Regions from separate parts of the Homo sapiens genome. Here region 1 is linked to region 2. The links are contacts of gene promoters, found by promoter capture Hi-C in human tissues and cell types (Jung and others, 2019). All regions are on one chromosome and are shown on one strand. Each heading gives the region's core, a stretch centred on a gene start or on the middle of the fragment in contact. The rest is flanking DNA. Distances are from core to core; before and after follow the strand shown. Region 1 holds the start of CREB3L3 (cAMP responsive element binding protein 3 like 3). Region 2 holds the start of GNA11 (G protein subunit alpha 11).

The links. Contacts are between HindIII fragments. The study calls those that stand out against the background at their distance.
Region 1: a contact is called between the fragment with the promoter of CREB3L3 here and the fragment with the promoter of GNA11 in region 2, in 1 of the 25 tissues and cell types used here (hippocampus).

The regions. Positions count from the first base shown.
Region 1 is chr19:4,150,753-4,155,967 of GRCh38, reverse strand. CREB3L3 (cAMP responsive element binding protein 3 like 3) reads right to left here and starts at 2,337. Exons shown (of 10, transcript NM_032607.3): 1 at 2,194-2,337; 2 at 941-1,069. The coding sequence starts at 2,220. The HindIII fragment of the contact is 37,156 bases long and covers 1-5,215 here.
Region 2 is chr19:3,091,442-3,096,670 of GRCh38, reverse strand. GNA11 (G protein subunit alpha 11) reads right to left here and starts at 2,309. Exons shown (of 7, transcript NM_002067.5): 1 at 1,884-2,309. The coding sequence starts at 2,019. RefSeq lists enhancers at 1-530, 531-1,516, 1,517-2,504 and silencers at 557-646, 1,801-1,930, 2,251-2,370, 2,391-2,640. The HindIII fragment of the contact is 21,058 bases long and covers 1-5,229 here.

The sequences.
Region 1 (5,215 bases), core at 1,088-3,587, 1.1 Mb before region 2:
AGACCAGCCTGGCCAACATGGTGAAACCCCATCTCTACTAAAAACACAAGAAATTAGCCGAGCGTGGTGGCGGCTGCCTGTAATCCCAGCTACTCGGGAAGTTGAGGTAGGAGAATCACTTGAACCTGGGATGCGGAGGTTGCAGTGAGCCAAGATCGCGCCATTGCGCTCCAGCCTGGGTGACAAGAGTGAAACTCTATCTCAAAAAAAAAAAAAGAGAGTAAAAGAAAGAGGGAGAAAGGAAGGAAAAAAGGAAGGAAGGAAGGAAGGAAAGAGAAAAAGAGAGAGAAAAGAAAGAAAAAAAAGAAAGTGGGCCGGGCGCGGTGGCACACGCCTGTAATCTCAGCACTTTGGGAGGCTGAGGTGGGTGGATCACAAGGTCAGGAGTTCAAGACCAGCCTGGCCAGGATAGTGAAACCCATCTCTACTAAAAATACAAAAATTAGCCAGGTGCAGTGGCGGGCGCCTGTAATCCCAGCTACTTGGGAGGCTGAGGCAAGAGAATCGCTTGAACCCGGGAGGCAGAGGTTGCAGTGAGCCGAGATGGCACCACTGCACTCCAGCCTGGGCAACAGAGCGAGACTCCTTCAAAAAAAAAAAAAAGAAGAAGAAAGAGAGAAAGGAAGGAGAGGAAGGAGAAGAGAACCGAACCTAGCCAGGGAGATGCCCCAAGTTTGAGTTTGAACCTAACTCCAAATTGCTGTGTGACTTTGGATGAGTTTCCACCCTGCTCTGGGCCTCCATTCCCCACCTGTAAGAAGGAGCTGATGCTACCCGCTAAATGATGTGCTTGGCTAAAATCAAGCACCGTGACCCATTAGTGCATCGTAGAGCTGAGCAGAGCTCTGGCTGGGCTCTGGCGGGTCTAGCACCTTCGTGGGGCCTCAGTTGGCCCGCCTGGAGCTCTGTGGTCCCGGGGCAACTGCAGTGGACTCCTCACCTGGTCCTTGACGTGACCCCAGCCCTCGCCCAGCTCCACGTGTCTCAGGATGCCGTCCTGCCGGTCAAACAGGAGATCCAGGAGCTCAAAGCTGTCGATGGGGTCCATGGAGCAGGCAGCAGAAGCCATCTGGGGCGCGAGGAACAGATGTGAGGGTCACATACAGCCCCTGTCCTCCCCACCTCCCATGTGCACATAACCCTGGCTCTTTCCGGCTAGAGTTCAGTTGCCGCTCTGCCTCCGGGTTGGGCCAGCTGCTGCCCCTCGCTGAGACTCCCTTTCCAAATCTGGACTTTGAGGCTGATAGAGAGAATTCCACAGTGTGAGAGCCAATTTCTCTTAAAGTGCTGGAGAGGCTGGATGTGGTGGCTCATGCCTGTAATCTCAGCACTTTGGGAGGCCGGGGCAGGAGGATCACTTGAGCCCAGGAGTTCAAGACCAGCCTGCGCAACATAGAGACCCCTATCCCTACTGCAAATAATTTAAAAAAATTAGCTGGCTGCGGTGGCACACACTTGTCGTCCCAGCTACTGGGGAGGCTGAGGTAGGAGGATCCCTTGAACCCAGGAGGTTGAGGCTGCAGTGAGCTATGGCCACCCCACTGCACTCCACCCTGGGTCACAGAGCAAGACCTTGTTTCAAAAAACAAAAAAGTATGGCAGGCACGGTGGCTCACATCTGTAATCCCAGCACTCTGGGAAGCCGAGGCGGGCAGCTCACCTGAAGTCAGGAGTTTGAGACCAGCCTAGCCAACATGGTGAAACCCTGTCTCTAGGAAAAGTACAAAAATTAGCCGGGCGTGGTGGTGCACACCTGTAATCCCAACTACTTGGGAGGCTGAGGCAGGAAGATCTCTTGAACCCAGGAGGTGGAAGTTGCAGTGAGCTGAGATCGTGCCATTGCACTCTAGCCTGGGTGACAGAGGGAGACTCCATCTCAAAAAATAAAAATAAAAATAAAATAAAATAAAATAAAAAGTGCTGGAGAGAGGCCCTAGCTAGAGATGCCGCTTGCCTCTCAGGCCTTCACAGCCTCCCCAAGTGCCCGCTCCTAGGAGGCAGGGGGACCTGGAAGAAAGACAAGGGCAGCCCCGGGGCAAAGGCACACAGTTTTGCTCATTGCATCCTTTCTCTGGGCCTCAGTCTTCCCATCTGTACAATAGGGGTGGAGATGGGGTCCTTCCAGCTCTGGCAGCTTGGGTAGGCTTTCCCAGCCTAGACTCCCGCTCTCCCTGGGGACCTAGTAGGGCTCACCTTTCCAGCAGCTAAATCCGTATTCATGGGTCCATCCAGTTCTGTCTGCAGATGCCTCGGGGGGTCTCTGCTCCAAGCTGGAGGCCCACCCACCGCCAGCGTTACCTGGGGCCGGGCAAGCTCACAGCCCTCTGTGGCTCTGTCACCACTCCCAAAAGATGCTGAAGCGGTCACAGGCAGCTCCCAGCCCACCTCCAGGTGCTGATTGGTGGACAGGGTGGAGAGACAGGGTTGAGGGCCAGTGACACTGGGGCAGGCAGGAGCAGGGGAGGGAAGACCGTTATCTGGGTGTTTTGTGGTTTTCCAGCCCTCAGTGAGCAAAGGTCGAAGTCTGGGGTACCTCCACTCTGCCGTGACCTCTGCCCTACTTATGAGGACTTTTTCTTTTTTTCTTTCTTTTTTGAGACGGAGTCTCGCTCTGTGGCCCAAGCTGGAGTGCAGTGGTGCCATCTCATTTCGGCTCACTGCAACCTCTGCCTCTTGGGTTCAAGTGATTCTCCTGCCTCAGCCTCCCGAGTAGCTGGGACTACAGGTCCCCATCACCATGCCCGGCTAACTTTTGTATTTTTAGTAGAGACGAGGTTTCATCATGTTTTCCAGGCTGGTCTCGAACTCCTGACCTCGTGATCGGCCCCTCAGTCTCCCAAAGTGCGGGGATTACAGGCGTGAGCCACCGCACCCGGCCAGTTACAGGACTTTTTCTCTTCAGAATTCCCAGATGGGTTCTGGGATAGCCCAGGGCCCTTACATGGGTCCTGTCCACTCCCTGGACAGAAACAAACCAAGAGGACCAGACCAGATCTTCACTGAAGCCAGTTTTCCTGCCAGCAGCTAGCGGCTCCCATCCTTCACCCCACCTGCCAACCTCCGGCCCCCAGCCCCCTCCGAAACCAGCTTGGACTCCGCCTCTGAGTCCCCATGGGTGATTCTGTGCAATCAATTCTCTCTAGAATCTTCTATCGTTCATTGAGTCAACAAATATTTATGGAGCCAAACTGGTTCCTGCTTAGGGCCTTTGCACCTACTCACCTGCTCGCCCCTCTGCCTGGAACTCTCCTCTTGTACCCTCCCTCTTCCCCTCTGGCTCTAGGTCACTGTATTGACATTTTAGTGAATGTTCGATATTTGTGAATCAGCCCGGGTGGCTGAGAGGTGTCTCTGACCTCCCCTCCACCCCCTACCAAGAGAGAGGAGCCCTGTTTTGTTTTTTTGTTTTTTTTTTTGGTGTTGGTGGAGGACAGGGTCTCACTCTATTGCCCAGGCTGGAGTGCAGTGGCAGGATCATAGCTCACTGCAGCCTCCAACTCCTGGGTTCAAGTGATCCTCCCGTCTCAGCCTCCCAAGTAGCTAGGACTGCAGGCGTGCACCACCACACCTGGCTAATTTTGTTTTTTTTTTTTTATAGAGATGGGGTCTTACTGTGTTGGCCAGTATGGTCTCAAACTCCTGGGCTCAAATGATCCACCTGCTTCAGCCTCCCAAAGTGCTGGATTTACAGGCATGAGCCACTGTGCCCAGGCAAAGTCCCCCTTTAGCAGATGACATATTAGACCAAGCGTGGTGGCTCACATCTGTAATGCCAGCACTTTGGGAGGCCGAGGTGGGTGGATCACCTGAGGTCAAGAGTTTGAGACCAACCTGGCCAACATGGTGAAACCCCATCTGTACTAAAAATATAAAAATTAGATGGGTGTGGTAGCACATGCCTGCAATACCAGTACTCGGGAGGCCGAAGCAGGAGAATCACTTGAACCCAGGAGGCGGAGGTTGCAGTGAGCTGAGATCACACCACTGCACTCCAACCTGGGCGACAGTGAGACTCTGTCTCAAAAAAAAAAAAAATGACATGTTCAGTGCAGTCCTGAAGGATGAGATGGAACTGGCCCTGGGAAGGTCTGGGGAAAGGTGTCCCAGGCAGAGGCACAGTTTGTGCAAAGGCCCTGAGGCAGGTCCGTGCCTAGCGCATTGGAGGAACAGCAATGAGACCCCTGTGGCTGGAGCAGAGTGAGGAGAGGAAGACAGGCAGGAGAGGAAGACAGGGAGGAGGGGAAGGCAGGGAGGAGGGGAAGGCAGGGAGGGGACGGGGCAGGTCGTGCAAAGCCCTGTGTGTTGTGGCAAGGAGTTTGGTTTGTGCTAAACAGCAGGGCACTGTTGGAAGTTTAGCAAATAGGAGACTAAATCAAGCTTTCTGTTTGCTGGACACTGTGCCATGTGCTAGGTTGAGAGGGGTAATTTATGTGCCCTCCTTGCTCTAAAAAAATTCACATCCTGGTTCCCTTCCCCTTCCTTCCTTCCTTTCCTTCCTTCCTTCCTTCCTTCTCTCCCTCCCTCCCTCCCTCCTTCCTTCCTTCTTTCCTCTCTCTTTTTTTCTCTTTTCTCTCTCTATCTTTCTTTCTCTCTTTCTTTCTTTCTTTCTCAAGACAGAGTCTCGCTCTGTCGCCCAGGCTGGAGTGCAGTAGCACAATCTCAGCTCACTGCAACCTCCACTTCCCAGGTTCAGGCGATTCTCCTGCCTCAGCCTCCTGAGTAGCTGGCATTACAGGCTCCCACCACCACACCCAGCTAATTTTTGTATTTTTGGTGGAGATGGGGTTTCACCATGTTGGCCAGGCTGGTCTTGAACTCCTGAATTCAAGTGATTCACCCGCCTTGGCCTCACAAAGTGCTGGGATTACAGGCATGAGCCACCACGCCCGGCCTGGTTTATATTTTTCAATGGATCACTCATATGTATTCATGAAATCAAAATTCAATAAGGGGCTACCATATGCCACACACGATATGGTTCTTTTATCCAACACTAACTCACATTACTGCACTTGCCCTCCACTAGGGCAGACTGGAGTGCAGTGCTGTGATCAAAACTCATTGCAGCAGGCCGGGCACAGTGGCTCATGCCTGGAATCCCAGCACTTTGGGAGGCCGAGGTGGGTGGATCACGAGGTCAGGAGATTGAGACCATCCTGGCTAACACGGTGAAACCCTGTCTCCATTAAAGATACGAAAAAAAAAATTAGCCGGG
Region 2 (5,229 bases), core at 1,060-3,559:
CCCGGGCCACAGGCGGGCACTGGACAGAGGATGCGGGAAGGGCCGCATCACTTCCAGACTTGCTCCAAGCAGCCAAGGCGGCAGACACGGGAGCCCCTGACCTTCGTCCTTGAACCCCGTGTCAATCTCAAGTCCAAAGTGCAGGCACAGAAGACCGGGTGCATGCAGGGATGGCGGCGGGGGTTCTGGAGGTCACAGAGCCACAGGGCAAGGCCATCTGGTAAGATCTTTATGACACCAGTAATTCCTAACTCCCCTCCATCCAAACAAAGTCCACGACCCACTACAAAAGCCAGCCAGTGCCACTCTGTGCAAAGTGCCACCACGCGGGCCGCACTGCACATTTCCTCCAAACGTGAGGACCACGGCTCTGCCTACCCGCGGCCCCCTGGAAAGATGGCCCATTTTAGAACCCTTAGGTAAATCAAAACACAAGTTTGGGGAAAAAAATCAGGAAGGCGTTTCATCCAAGGCACCTCTGTAACCCGGGACACGGAGGGCCCTAAGAGGCTCACGGCAGGAGAGGCAACGTGTTCCCCACACAACATGCGACCTGCCTCCTCCCCAAGAGCCACCGCCACCAGCACGCCCCCTCCTCCGTCACCGCTGCCTCTCACGCATTTCCGACCTTCCCCACCGCCCCGCCCCCGGCCCAGGAGCTAACCTAGGAGCTCGGGAGGGCAGGGGCGGGGCAGGGCAAGAGCTTCTGTTTTGTAAACCACTGAAGGGGCCCTTATTTGGAGTGACAACACTTTACAGCTGGCCCGACTGGCTCCCTGCAGCAGGTGTGCCTTGGGGAGAAGGAGGTTCACCAGCAAACCTTCTCCAGGACGGTGGGGAGGAGCCGGCAGGTGGGGGGCTGCTCTCAACGAGGACTCAGCGTGGCTCCCACCAGGACTCTAAGGAAGGGGGCGGGGGAGGCTGCCGAGATAGCTGCTTGGGACAACAAGCAAAGGCTCCCTCAGGTGTCAACCGCCCCACCCTCAGCTGAGCGGAACCCTGAGGAGAGGAAAGACTGTCTTTTTCCCACAGGGTGCATTCCAGCCAAGAGGAGTACGGGGTTTCCCGGAACAGGAAGGCAGGAGAATGGCCCTGAAGGGAATGTGGGGATAGGGGACACGGAGGAGTCTTCGGGGGGATGGGGGGGTGTACAGGGCCTGCATGGAGGGTACAGGGCCTGCATGGAGTGTACAGGGCTCTGCCTGGAGGGAAGGGTCAACGCGGGGCCCTGAGCAGTGAGGGGTGAGTGTGCCCTGTGGGTTACAGCCCAAAGGTCTGGCCCTGAAGGGGTAGCGAGGGGTGGGTACTCCGGTGGGGTAAGGTCAGAAGGTCCCTGTGCAGGGAGGGACTGGTCCCTTGAGAAGGAACAGAGGGCAAATCCTGAAGAGTCCTGGAGGCCCAATGTAGACAGCAGAAGCTGGGAGCTGACCTAGGAGTGATCGGGGGCCTGATCCAGACAGGACAGACACAGGCTGACACCGGAGAGTCCCAGGTGCCAACATGAACAGTTAAGGCAGGGGCTGACCCCAAAGAAATCAGGGGCCCGCAGCTGACCCCGGAGGGTCCCAGGTGCCGACCTAGACAGCAAAGGCAGGGCTGACCCCAGAGGGTCCCGAGCCGACCCAGACGACACAGGCAGGGCTGATCCCGGAGGGCCCCGCCCCGACCCGGACAGGCAGTGAAGGCACAGGCAGGGCTGACACTCGAGGGTCCCGCGACCCGGACAGGCAGGGAAGGCACAGGCAGGGCTGACCCCGGAGGGTCTCGCGACCCGGACGGCACAGGCAGGGCTGACCCCGGAGGGTCCCGGCCCGACCCGGACAGGCAGGGCAGGCACAGGCAGGGCAGGGCCCGCAGCCGGCAGGCCCGGGGGCCGCACTCACCGAGCAGCAGCAGCTTGAGCTCGCGCCGGGCGTCGCGCTTGTCCCGCCGCAGCTGCTTCTCGATCTCGGCGTTGATCCGCTTGGACTCCTTCACCTCATCGCTCAGGCAACACGCCATCATGGACTCCAGAGTCATCGTCCCGGCCCCGGCCGACGCGGCCGCCTGCCCGCCGCCGCCCCCCGGCCCCCGGCCCGGCCCTGGCCGGAGCCGCCTCGGCCGCCGCCCGCCGCGGCCCTCCGGCCTCGGCCACCGGCCCTCGGCCCCGGGCCGGCCCGCCCCGCCTCGGCCGCCGCCTGGCGAGCCGCCGGGTCCCCGCTCGGGCCGCGCCAGCCGCGGACTCCCGCGCGGCCGCACTCAGCCCGCGCCGCCGCCGCAGCCACCGCCAACCGCAGCCGCCGCAACCGAGCGACAGCGCCGGACAACCTAGCAGGCTGGGAGCGCAGCCCGCGACGGGCAGACGGTGCGGCCAATGGGAGGGGCCGGCGGCCAAGCGCGCCCACCATGGGGGCGGGACTAGCGGCCTGGGCGGGGCGTCGGCGGGCGCGAAAGGGGCGGGGCGGGGCGAGGGCGGGGGGCCCGCGGGTTTGGTTGCGCCGACGTGGGAAGGGGGACGCGCAGCCGGGAGCCGGGGCGGGGCCGCCCGGGATTGTGGGAATGTGGCGGACTCGGCCCGGCCAGGCTCGGCTCCGCTCGGCTCCGTTCGGCCCCGCTCGGTCCCGCTCGGCTCGGCCCAGGCGCGGTGGCGGAGGCGCGCACGCGGCCGCTGCGCTCTCTGGGTCTCCAGGTGCCTGGGCAGCAGTCGCTGCCCCCGGGAAGCGCCCTGACATTGCCTGACAGGAACCTTCACTCATCCATTAAAAAGCGTTAATGGAGGTCGGGCGCGGTGGCTCACGCCTGTAATCCCAGCACTTTGGAAGGCCGAGGCGGGCGGATCACCTGAGGTCTGGAGTTCGAGACCAGCCTGACCAACAGGGAGAAACGCCGTCTCTACTAAAACTACAAAATTAGCCCGGCGTGGTGGTGCACGCCCGTAATCCCAGCTACTCGGGAGGCTGAGGCAGGAGAATCACTTGAACCCAGGAGGCGGAGGTTGCAGTGAGCCGAGATCACGCCATTGCACTCCAGCCTGGGCAACAAGAACGAAACTCCGTCTCCAAAGAAAAAAAAAAAAAAAGAGGGCCGGGCGCGGTGGCTCACGCCTGTAATCCCAGCACTTTGGGAGGCCGAGGCGGGTGGATCACGAGGTCAGGAGATCGAGACTATCCTGGCTGACACGGTGAAACCCCGTCTCTACTAAAAATACAAAAAATTAGCCGGGCGTGGTGGCGGGCGCCTGTAGTCCCAGCTACTCGGGAGGCTGAGGCAGGAGAATGGCGTGAACCCGGGAGACGGAACTTGCAGTGAGCTGAGATCATGCCACTGCACTCCAGCCTGGGCGACAGAGCGAGACTCTGTCTCAAAAAAAAAAATTAAAAAGCGTTAATGGGACACCTACTGTGTATCAGGCATTAATGGGACACATTCTATATGCCAGGCACGGACCAGAGATTAATGGAGTGCCTGCTGTCCATCAGGTGTCAATCAGGCCTTACTGCAGTGCCTGCACCATTCCAGGCCAGGTATACGCATTCATGAAATGCCTACAGGATACCAGGCACTGCTGTAAGCCCGTTAAGCTAACCCTACCCAAGGGATATCTTTTTTTTCTTCTTCTTTTTTTGAGATGGAGTCTTGCTCTGTCGCCCAGGCTGGAGTGCAGGGGCGTGATCTAGGTTCATTGCACCCTCTGCCTCACAGGCTCTAGTGATTCTCCTGCCTCACCCTCCCAAGTAGCTGGGATTACAGGCGCGCCACCATGCCTGGCTAATTTTGTATTTTTAGTAGAGAGCGGGTTTCGCCACGTTGGCCAGGCTGGTCTCAAACTCCTGGCCTCTAGTGATCTGCCCTCCTCGGCCTCCCAAAGCGCTGGGATTATAGATGTGAGCCACCTCACCCAGCCATATCTTTATCCTTACTTTGCAGATGAAATGGAAGTGGCCACCAGAATTTATAAAAACGTGTGTTCCCACCACCTTGCTGACTACTGAAAACCCTTTTCCCTCTCTGGCCTCCTTGGCCAACCCCTGAGCATCCTCTCCGTTTCAATTCAGACGTCAGCTCCTCAGGGAGACTTCTCCTGACTCCTCAGACCAAGCCAGGTACCTTCTCTTGAGCCACAACTTGAAATTGTATGTTCTGGCCAGGTGCGGCAGCTCCTGCCGGTAATCCCAGTACTTGGGAGGCCAAGGCAGGTGGACCGCTTGAGCTCAGGAGTTCGAGACCAGCCTAGATAACATGGCGAAACCCCATCTCTACTAAAAATACAAAAAATTAGATGGGTGTGGTGGCACATGCCTGTAATCCCAGCTACTCGGGAGGCTGAGAGGATCACTTGAGCCCAGGAGGCAGATGTTGCAGTGAGCGGAGATGGGGCTACTGCACTCCAGCCTGGGACACAAGAGTGAGACCCTGTATCAAAACAAAACAAAACAAAACACCAGAGTGGCCAACATGGTGAAACCCCCTCTCTACTAAAAATACAAAAATGACCCGGGCGTGGTGGCGGGCACCTGTGGTCTCAGCTACTTTTGCTGAGGCAGGAGAATCGCTTGAACCCGGGAGGCAGAGGTTGCAGGGAGCTGGGATCATACCACTGCATTCCAGCCAGGGCAACAGAACGAGACTCCGTCTCAAAAAAAAAAAAAAAAAAAGGCCGGGTGTGGTGGTTTATGCCTGTAATCCCAGCACTTTGGGAGGCCGAGGTGGGCAGATCACCTGAGATCGGGAGTTCAAGACCAGCCTGACCACCATGGAGAAACCCCGTCTCTACTGAAAATACAGAATTAGCCAGGCACGGTGGCTCATGCCTGTAATCCCAGCTACTTGGGAGACTGAGGCAGGAGAACCTCTTGAACCCGGGAGGCGGAGGTTGCAGTGAGCTGAGATCGCACCATTGCACTCCAGCCTGGGCAACAAGAGAGAAACTCCGTCCAAAAAAAAAAAAAAACAAAAAAGCAGGGTGTGGTGGCTCATGCCTGTAATCCCAGCACTTTGGAAGGCCAAGGCAGGCAGATCACTTGAGGTCAGCAGTTTGAGACCAGCCTGGCTAACATGGCAAAACCCTGTCTCTATTAAAAATACAAAAAAATTAGTGGACACCTGTAATCCCAGCTACTCGGGAGGCTGAGGCAGCAGAATCTCTTGAACCCAGGAGGTGGACGTTGCAGTGAGCCGAGACCACACCACTGCACTCCAGCCTGGGCGACAAGCGTGAAACTCCATCTCCAAAAAAAAAAAAGAAAGAAA